Linked DNA regions of Homo sapiens: regions 1 and 2 are each linked to region 3. Evidence: promoter capture Hi-C in 16 types of primary human blood cells and fetal thymus (Javierre and others, 2016). All regions are on one chromosome and are shown on one strand. The core of a region is centred on a gene start or on the middle of the fragment in contact, and the rest is flanking DNA. Distances in the headings are between cores, read along the strand shown.

Region 1 (2,700 bases), core at 162-2,661, 67 kb after region 3:
CCAATCTTGGCTTGGAAAGGCTCTTGGGGCTTACAGAAAGTGAGAATATGTCTTCCCCGCCCCTTCTCAGGAAGATATGCAAGTCTCCACCTGCTGCCTTGAAGTCTTGGCCCTGCCAATGACCAGCTCTGGATCTTGAGCCCTCTCTCTGCTCCTCCCTCTTCAATTGTAGAAGTGGGTGGGTTTGGGTGGGCGGGGATTGGGGGGAACATTGACCTGGATGGTCACAAAGGTGCCAACCAGCTTAGCTGCTCCAGACCTCAGCTCCTGAAATAGTGCTGAATCCACAGGACTCAGCAGGGTCTACTGAAGCTCATCGGCACTCACTGTACATGAAGCTAAGGCACCGAACATCAAAATGTTGAAATACTTCTGCTCCTGCTGGTAAGTAGATGCTTCCTTCAGCCTTGGGACACCACCTTACCATACTTCCCTATGATCCAGCAACTAAAGGTTGAACACCTGGCACAGATGGAGGCCCCCAGAACAGTGCTACCACTTTCTGATTGGTAGATGATAATGGTTTAGCTACAAAAACGCCTAGGCTCAGGAGCAGCCTTCAAGGAGAACCCAGTCTAGACCCTGGGAGACACATGGAGAATCAGAGTTAGCAGAACCAAGAACCCAACAAACCCATGTCTTTAGTCCAGGGCTGTAGCCTTCCCCAGGAGGCCCCTCAGCTTACTCGGCTTTGTCCTATAGTCATGGCTGCCTTCGTTCACTTATCCACTCACCAAATATTTACTGTGCACCTACTGTGTTCCAAGCACTATTCTAACAGCTAGAAATGCAGGGGAGGACAAGCCAGACAAGGTCCCTGCCTCATGAAGCTTACGTTTTAGGGGGAGACAGATTATAAACAAGGAAACAAGATAATTTCTGATAATAATAAGTGCTATGAAGAAAATGAAACAGCATTATGAGATAGGGAGTTACTGGGGGTGGGGGAGAGGAAGGCAGGGCAACTTTAAGTTGGAAAGCCAGGAAAGGCCTTTCTGAGGATGCAGGATTTCACCTGATGACAGAAAGGGTCTGGGGGAAGTAGTTTAGGCAGAGGGGGCAGGACATGCAGAGTCCTAGAGGTGGAAAAGAGCATGGCATATTTGAGAAACAGAAAGGACAGTGTAGATGTTGAACAAGAGATAAGGAGGAGAGGGAGACAAGATGAGGTGAAAGAGGTGGGCAGGGAGGAGATCACATAGGGTCCTCCAGGCTACCATGGAGCATTTGGATTTTATTCCAGAGTCAGCCGGAAGATATTGACTGGATTCAAGCATGAGCTACATGATATGTTTCTTGAGGGCAGGCACCATGTCCTTGACATTCTAGTGCCACCACAAGGCCATCACCAAATAACAATAATAGTAGTTGCCTTTGTCCAAAATTTACACCTCATGGGCCTGATACTGTTCTTGGGATTCCCTTAATCCTCATAACAAGTAAATGCTAAAAGTTCAATTAACATTCCCACTCTACAGACAAGGAACCAGAGGCTCCAGGAAGTCACAGAACTTGGCCAAGGTAACTAGCCAGTGTTAGAACCAGGATTAGAACCCAGGCAATCTAGGTGCTATGGGTCCAAAGAGAGGAGAACTGAAGAATTGGTGAGCACCCAAGAAGTTTTGGGTAGCAGGAGAAACAAGGAGAGGTCCAGGAAGTCTTGGGGTCAGGTGAGGAAAAAACCAGCTCATTGGACCTGCAGGGAAGGGGAAAGAATGGGAGAAAAGACTGGGACCCGGGAAGCCAAATGGAGGGGTTCCTTCCCTTCTTCTCCCTGAATATGGCAAGGGCAAACCTTGAAGACCCACTGCTTGAGGCTGCCACCCACCCAGGGTCTCAGCTACCTGCCAAGCCTGGGTTTTCTCCAACCTCACCTGCCCTCAACAACGAACACATTCAGCTTTCTGGAAAGCACAAGTCAGAGGGGAAGCCAAGGTAAAGAGGAAAAGCCATGGAAGAAGAGCACTGTGCCTGGCAATCTACATAAGCTTACTCCTCACCAAAGTCACTGCCACAGAGGAGGACCTGAGACTCGGATGCCCTATAACTGGACAAAGGTCACACAGCTAGTTAAGCAGGATTCACTTGTGACTCTGACTGGCTCCATTCCACACCTGGATATTCCAGAAGCAGCCTTATTTCCCACTGGTCTGTCCTCTGCTGTCCCTCTTCTACCCTTCCCCGGGCAGGGAAACTGCCTGCCCATCTCCCAAGCCAACCCTTGCCTGGTCCTAGCAGTTTCCTTCCTCCTTAGCCTTTTCTGGCCTCCATCTATTTCCCCTCGTGCCAGTCAAAGCATTCATCTTTGAAGACAGGGTTTCCTGCCCACCTCCACCTTGGACCCCAATTTGCCTTGGCAGTCTCCTGGGCAGAGATCACACCAAGTCACTCGCCAGCAGCTGGATATCCGTGTGCCTGGCAGCCAGGTCCCCCAGGGCTGGGGTCTGGAAGAGGTTGGAAAATCTTCCCTAGTGGCCACCTCTAACCTAACTGGAGCTGGGAAGCAGGAGCTCTCCCTGGAAATTTAAAAGTTCCTCTACCATCCCAGTGGAGTTGGAATCTATTCAGGAGTCTTCCATCATGGAGAGCCAGCCTAGAGCCAACACAGTTTATCCCCATCCCCATGTTTATCCCAGAATCTCTCCCTATTCCACCCCATAGGCTCCACCACACCCTTCCAGCAGAGGTTTCTTCACAGGT
Region 2 (2,700 bases), core at 105-2,604, 110 kb after region 3:
GTCACAATTGATGCCCTCAAGAAGCTTGCATTCGGCCGGGCGCGGTGGCTCACGCCTGTAATCCCAGCACTTTGGGAGGCCGAGGCGGGTGGATCATGAGGTCAGGAGATCGAGACCATCCTGGCTAACAAGGTGAAACCCCGTCTCTACTAAAAATACAAAAAATTAGCCGGGCGCGGTGGCGGGCGCCTGTAGTCCCAGCTACTCGGGAGGCTGAGGCAGGAGAATGGCGTGAACCCGGGAAGCGGAGCTTGCAGTGAGCCGAGATCCCGCCACTGCAGTCCGCAGGCCAGCCTGGGCGACAGAGCGAGACTCCGTCTCAAAAAAAAAAAAAAAAAAAAAAAAAAAAAAAAGAAGAAGCTTGCATTCTAGTGGGAAAACAGAAATGTAGTTAGTTTCATTATAAAACCACAAAGTAAATATTAAACAGGGATAGGAACAGTTTGTCCTGACTGCAGGAGTGATTACTTCTGACTTGGAAATCAGGAAAGGCTTCATGTCTGTTGTACCTGGCTTACACTTGGAAGGATATGCGTGATTTTCATAGAAGAGTTGGAATGAGCATAGCAGGCTAGAGGGAACAGCATGAGGGATACATGAAAATAAATAACAACTACAATGCATAGTACATCAGGTGTAGGGCAGGATCTGGAAGAGAAATGTAATCAGGATCAGATTGAAAAAGGTTGTAGTTCCATGCTTGTGTTTGGACTTTGTACTTATTGGTGGCATCATAGAGGGCTTTTTTTGGCAATAAGAAGTTTGGAGGCTGAGCATGGTAGCTTACGCCTATAAACCTAGCACTTTGGGAGGCCGAGGCAGGAGGATTGCTTGAGGCCAAGAGTTCAAGATCAACTTGGCCAACATAGCGAGACCCTATCTTTTAAAGTACTTTTTTTAGGAATTTTTATTTTTCAAAAAAAAATTTGAAGCCAATACATCTGCCAGGACCCCTGCAATGATGATGGGGAGTTACTCAAGCAGTGAAAGTAGGAATAGAGAGAACAGACAAGATATGGTAGAATTGACTGAATATGGAAAACTAAACCAGAGAAGGGTCAAAACATGATTCACCCTCCAATACCCAACAATTTATGGGGATCTTTTAGAGCCAGCCATTTAGTGCCCCCTGGTGGACAGATGAGACCATCACAGCATTAACAGCAACAAGTCACTTAGGCTGTTTCATTCTTCCAGTAAAAAGTTTATATTGAACACTATCCAGACCCTCACTAATCAGCCTCTGCAGAAGCCACAGAGATCACGGCACTATTTTAGGTGAATCTAGTTAGGAGAAAAGATAGACCTCAAATGCCTAACCCATAACAGAAAGTAGAATAAATGACCAAATCCTAAAATATGTGGTGGATAACACTGACATGAGATTTTAGAAAATACTGCAATTTGAGAGGTGGGTTAAGGCTTCAGATATAACAGAGTTTTTTGTTTTGTTTGTTTTGAGACAGAGTCTCGCTCTGTCACCCAGGCTGGAAGTGCAGTGGCTGAGTCTCAGCTCACCTCAATCTCCACCTCCTATGTTCAAACGATTCTCCTGCCTTAGCCTCCAGAGTAGCTGGGACTACAGGTGCATGCCACCACACCTGGCTAATTTTTGTATTTTTAGTAGAGACGGGATTTCACCATGTTGGCCAGGCTGGTCTCAAACTCCTGACCTCAAGTGATCCGCCCACCTCTGCCTCCCAAAGTGCTGAGACTGCAGGTGTGAGCCACTGCGCCCGGCCACAGAGCCATTTCTTTAACATATGATTTTTGAAGAGCATCCAGGTCAGAGGCAATTGTGAACAAAACATCCTGAGAAGTAAATGAAAAAATAGTAAGGTTGAAATACTAAGAAATTCTATAGGTAATGAAGTCTGAAGGTTCAACCTGGCTAGTGATGTAGTGTTCAAGTTTTAAGACCAATCTGACACTGGAATAAAAAATGGAGAAATTAGGATGCCCAAGACAAAATTTAGATATGAAAACAGTGAAAGCCAGTTGTGAAGTCCTAATAAACTAATCCTGGCCAGGAGCTGTGGCTCACGCCTATAGGAAGGCCAAGCCAGGAGGACTGCTTGAGCTCAGGAGTTTGGGACAGCCTGGGCAACACAGCAAAACTGTCTCTACAAAAAATTAGCCAAGTGTGAAGGCAGGCACCTATAGTCACAGCTATGTAGGACACTGAGGTGGGAGGATCACTTGAGCCCGGGAGGTTGAGGCTGCAGTGAGCCACTGCACTCCAGCCTGGGTGACAAAGCAAGACCATCTCAAAAAAATAAATGATCCAATTAATATAAGTTAGCTGGACACATTAAATGGTTACTGCATGGTTGGAAAAACAAGCTTTCCGATTGTCTCTTAGCTAAGTGTATTTTGTCTTCTGCATTTCTTGGGCCCACCTTGAGGTAGAAAAGGTAGCTGGGTGCAGTGGTTCACACTTGTAATCCCAATACTTTGGGAGGCTAAGATGGGAAGATTGCTTGGTCAACATAGCGAGACCCCAAAGACAAGGTTACCCAGACCCCAATCCAAAGCTCTAGGGCTGCAGGCATGGATAGTTCATTTGCACGTAAGCTGTATCAGGAGCACACAAAAGCGCCATTAGGTCAGTAATTCGGCTATTCCTTTTTTTATTTTGAGACAGTTTCACTCTGTCACCCAGGCTGGAGTGCAGTGGTGTGAACTTGGCTCACTGCAAGC
Region 3 (2,815 bases), core at 45-2,544:
GGTTGCCTAGACACGGAGCCAGTCAAGCTTGCATGCCCCGTTGCTAGAAGAGCATGGCATCGGTTGTGTTCTGTGCTCGTAGGCTGGGCCCCAGCTCCCTTTCCTCCCCTCCTTTGTGGCTGTTCCTCAGGCCTGCAGAGGGGAAGATTTTTCCTGTCCTGTTACTCTGCCTCACTTGCCAGAACACTAGTCGCCTCCAGCTCTGGATAAAGCTGAGGCTGGGTGGGCCAGACAACAGCTGTCTTAGGGGTCTCCTTCCAGCTCCAAGTAGTTGTATTATCTATAGCTCTGAGAGGGTCTGTCTCTGGGCTCAGGCCTTTAGTACCTGTGGGGCAGAGCCAGGAACGTGAGTCAGGCAAACCGCTCCAAACTAGGACCAATGCAGCTGGGTCCTGCTCTCTGCGCATAGGGGGTCCCCACATCTTTGGAATCCCAGCCCACCTTTCCAGGCTACCCTCCACAGGCCGGGCTCCACTCCCATCTGCTGAGGTTTCCCACCTTGAATCCTGCTGCCCCGATTAGCTGTATAACCTTAAAGAATGCACTGTCCCTCTCCATTAAATGAAGTGCTTGGATGGATTGCTAAAGGCCTGTCTGGCTCGGAGGCTTGGTGACCTCAACACATTGCCTGCTGGTCCAAGGAAATCAGTGCCTGAGCCAGAGTCCCCATCTCTAAGCTCCATGGTTATTGTTCTTGCCACCTGGCTAGGAAATGTCCTTCCAGCTGCCCCAGTCTAGCTGCCTCACCCTGGGGCCATGCCCCCAACTCTGTCCTACCCTTCTCTGCTGCTGACACTCAGCCCCTTCCCAGCTTCCAGTTGGATACAGGACCTGGGCCAGGAGAGCAGGGAGGACACTGTGGAAATGCGGCCAGGCCATCAGGGGCCTCGCAGCAGGGGACTGGAGGGGGAGCAGTGTCCAGGGCCAGAAGTGCCCTGCGGGAGAGCCAGGACATTGGCTGCCTGTGGTCTTGGTGGTCGTGGTCAGTTCCCTCTCCTGCCAGCTGTGGAATGTGAGGCCTGGCCTGGGAGATATTTTTGCTGCACTTTGAGCCACCCCGCCCCCTGGAACTCAGACCCTGCACAGTCCATGCCATAACAATGACGACCACTTCCAATTGTTTCCTAGCTGGAGAGGCGGGGAGGGGAGCACTGTTTGGGAAGGGGGGGAGCCTGGGGGAAATGCTTCTAGTGACAACAGCCCTTTCTAAATCCGGCTAGGGACTGGGTGCCGTTGGGGGTGGGGGTGCCCTGCTGCCCCATATATACAGCCCCTGAGACCAGGTCTGGCTCCACAGCTCTGTCCTGCTCTGTGTCTTTCCCTGCTGCTCTCAGGTAGGAGCGGGAGCTGGAGGCTTTACTCTGGGATAAGGGGGCTCCAGGCTTAGGAAGGGATTCCTCTTGGAATAGCAAGCTTCATGCAGGACTTCATGCAGAGTACCAGGTCCAGTCACTGGGCACACATGTGCAGGTCTAAACATGGGCGTATGTGCCACAGGAGTTCCTAGGGGAAGATATCTGCATCTGAGCATATGGGACCAATATGCATTACAGGGTGTGTGTGTGTGTGTGTGTGTGTGTGTGTGTGTGGACAAGCCTGCATAGTCTGAATGTGAGAAAGGGTATGTACCTCACTGACTGATACAGAAATATCAAGTGGGAGATGTGGGTGTATGATCACGTCTGTGAACGAGGAGGTTCCTTTGCAGGGAGGGAGAAAGAATGGTGGAGAAGGATTCTAGGAAGTGTGTATGCCTTCATGTGATTCTGTGAGGCCTGGAATGTGTAGCTACCCCTGTCCATGCATGCAGAGGTTCTTGTCTATGCCTCCACGAGTCATGACTGTTATAGTATCTGTACCCTCTGCAGAAGGAACTCACAGGCACGGGGGTGTAGGATGTTCCAGGTCTTTGTGTACTGAAGAACACGCAGTGATGTGATCTACTTACGTGGCACACATCCTGAAATGTGCACATTTGCTGTTGAGGCATATATGGCACCCTGGGGTTGGGGTGCGGATTGAGGTATGGGAAGGAAGCCTGTCTTCATGTGAGAGGCATGCCCAAGCAGCAGGCATGAGTGTTCATCAGAGGGCTTGTGGAGGGTGTTTGGCTATGTGATGGGTGTGTCTGTGAGAGGAAGCCCACAGTGTCTTCTCTCTGAGAATGTCCACAAAGTCTGACAACAAAATGGGGACAGGATGGAAAAGAAGTCTCTTTAGAGTCATCAGACTTGCATTCAAGTCTTGGCTCTCCCACTTGTTGTCATGGGCTCTTGGCCAAGCAAGCCATTTAACCTCGATTTCCTCATCTGTCAAATGGGGTGAAGACTGAGTAGGAGAAAGTGCATTGAAGTGCTTTTAGACTGGAAAGTGCCGAACAAATGTGACCATTAGTTGTCTCTCAGATGGCTCAAAGAAAGGTACCACTAGATGGGTACAGGCAGGGGTGGGACCATCTCGCAGGAGTGAAGAGGATTAGGGTTCAGGTTGAGTTGACACCAGGAAGCTGTTAGAACTAGTTCTTGAGGAAAAAGGGAATAGGGTTTGAAAAACAAGAAGGATGGGACCAGAGAAGCTGACCACCCTTTCCACCTTGTTTTGGAAGAGGGTGGATGCTGAAGAACAGAGCCAGGGAGAAGCAGGAAGGTGGGACTGGTCAGGTTGGGCACAGCCTGCCCTGACACAGCCTCTTCCCTCTCTCCAGGTCCCCTGCAGGCCTTGGCCCCTTTCCTCATCTGTAGACACACTTGAGTAGCCCAGGTAAGAAAAGCTGAAGCTAGAGTGTTGAAAATCTAGTAAGACTGGGCATTAGAGC

What was found. The method cuts DNA at HindIII sites, captures the fragments that hold promoters and counts their contacts. A CHiCAGO score of 5 or more calls a contact.
Region 1: a contact is called between a fragment that was not itself captured here and the fragment with the promoter of MYH7 in region 3, in 1 of 17 cell types (megakaryocytes). The highest score is 5.1, in megakaryocytes.
Region 2: a fragment that was not itself captured here is called in contact with the fragment with the promoter of MYH7 in region 3 in 1 of 17 cell types (megakaryocytes); the score reaches 10.2 in megakaryocytes.

What each region holds. Positions count from the first base shown.
Region 1 is chr14:23,367,431-23,370,130 of GRCh38, reverse strand. No RefSeq gene overlaps it. Among named protein-coding and RNA genes, the nearest start is that of EFS, 3.6 kb to the right of the region's middle. The HindIII fragment of the contact is 1,158 bases long and covers 833-1,990 here.
Region 2 is chr14:23,326,644-23,329,343 of GRCh38, reverse strand. No RefSeq gene overlaps it. Among named protein-coding and RNA genes, the nearest start is that of PABPN1, 6.5 kb to the right of the region's middle. RefSeq lists a silencer at 1,062-1,151. The HindIII fragment of the contact is 1,983 bases long and covers 363-2,345 here.
Region 3 is chr14:23,434,139-23,436,953 of GRCh38, reverse strand. MYH7 (myosin heavy chain 7) reads left to right here and starts at 1,294. Exons shown (of 40, transcript NM_000257.4): 1 at 1,294-1,334; 2 at 2,705-2,760. RefSeq lists an enhancer at 597-1,434. The HindIII fragment of the contact is 1,386 bases long and covers 30-1,415 here.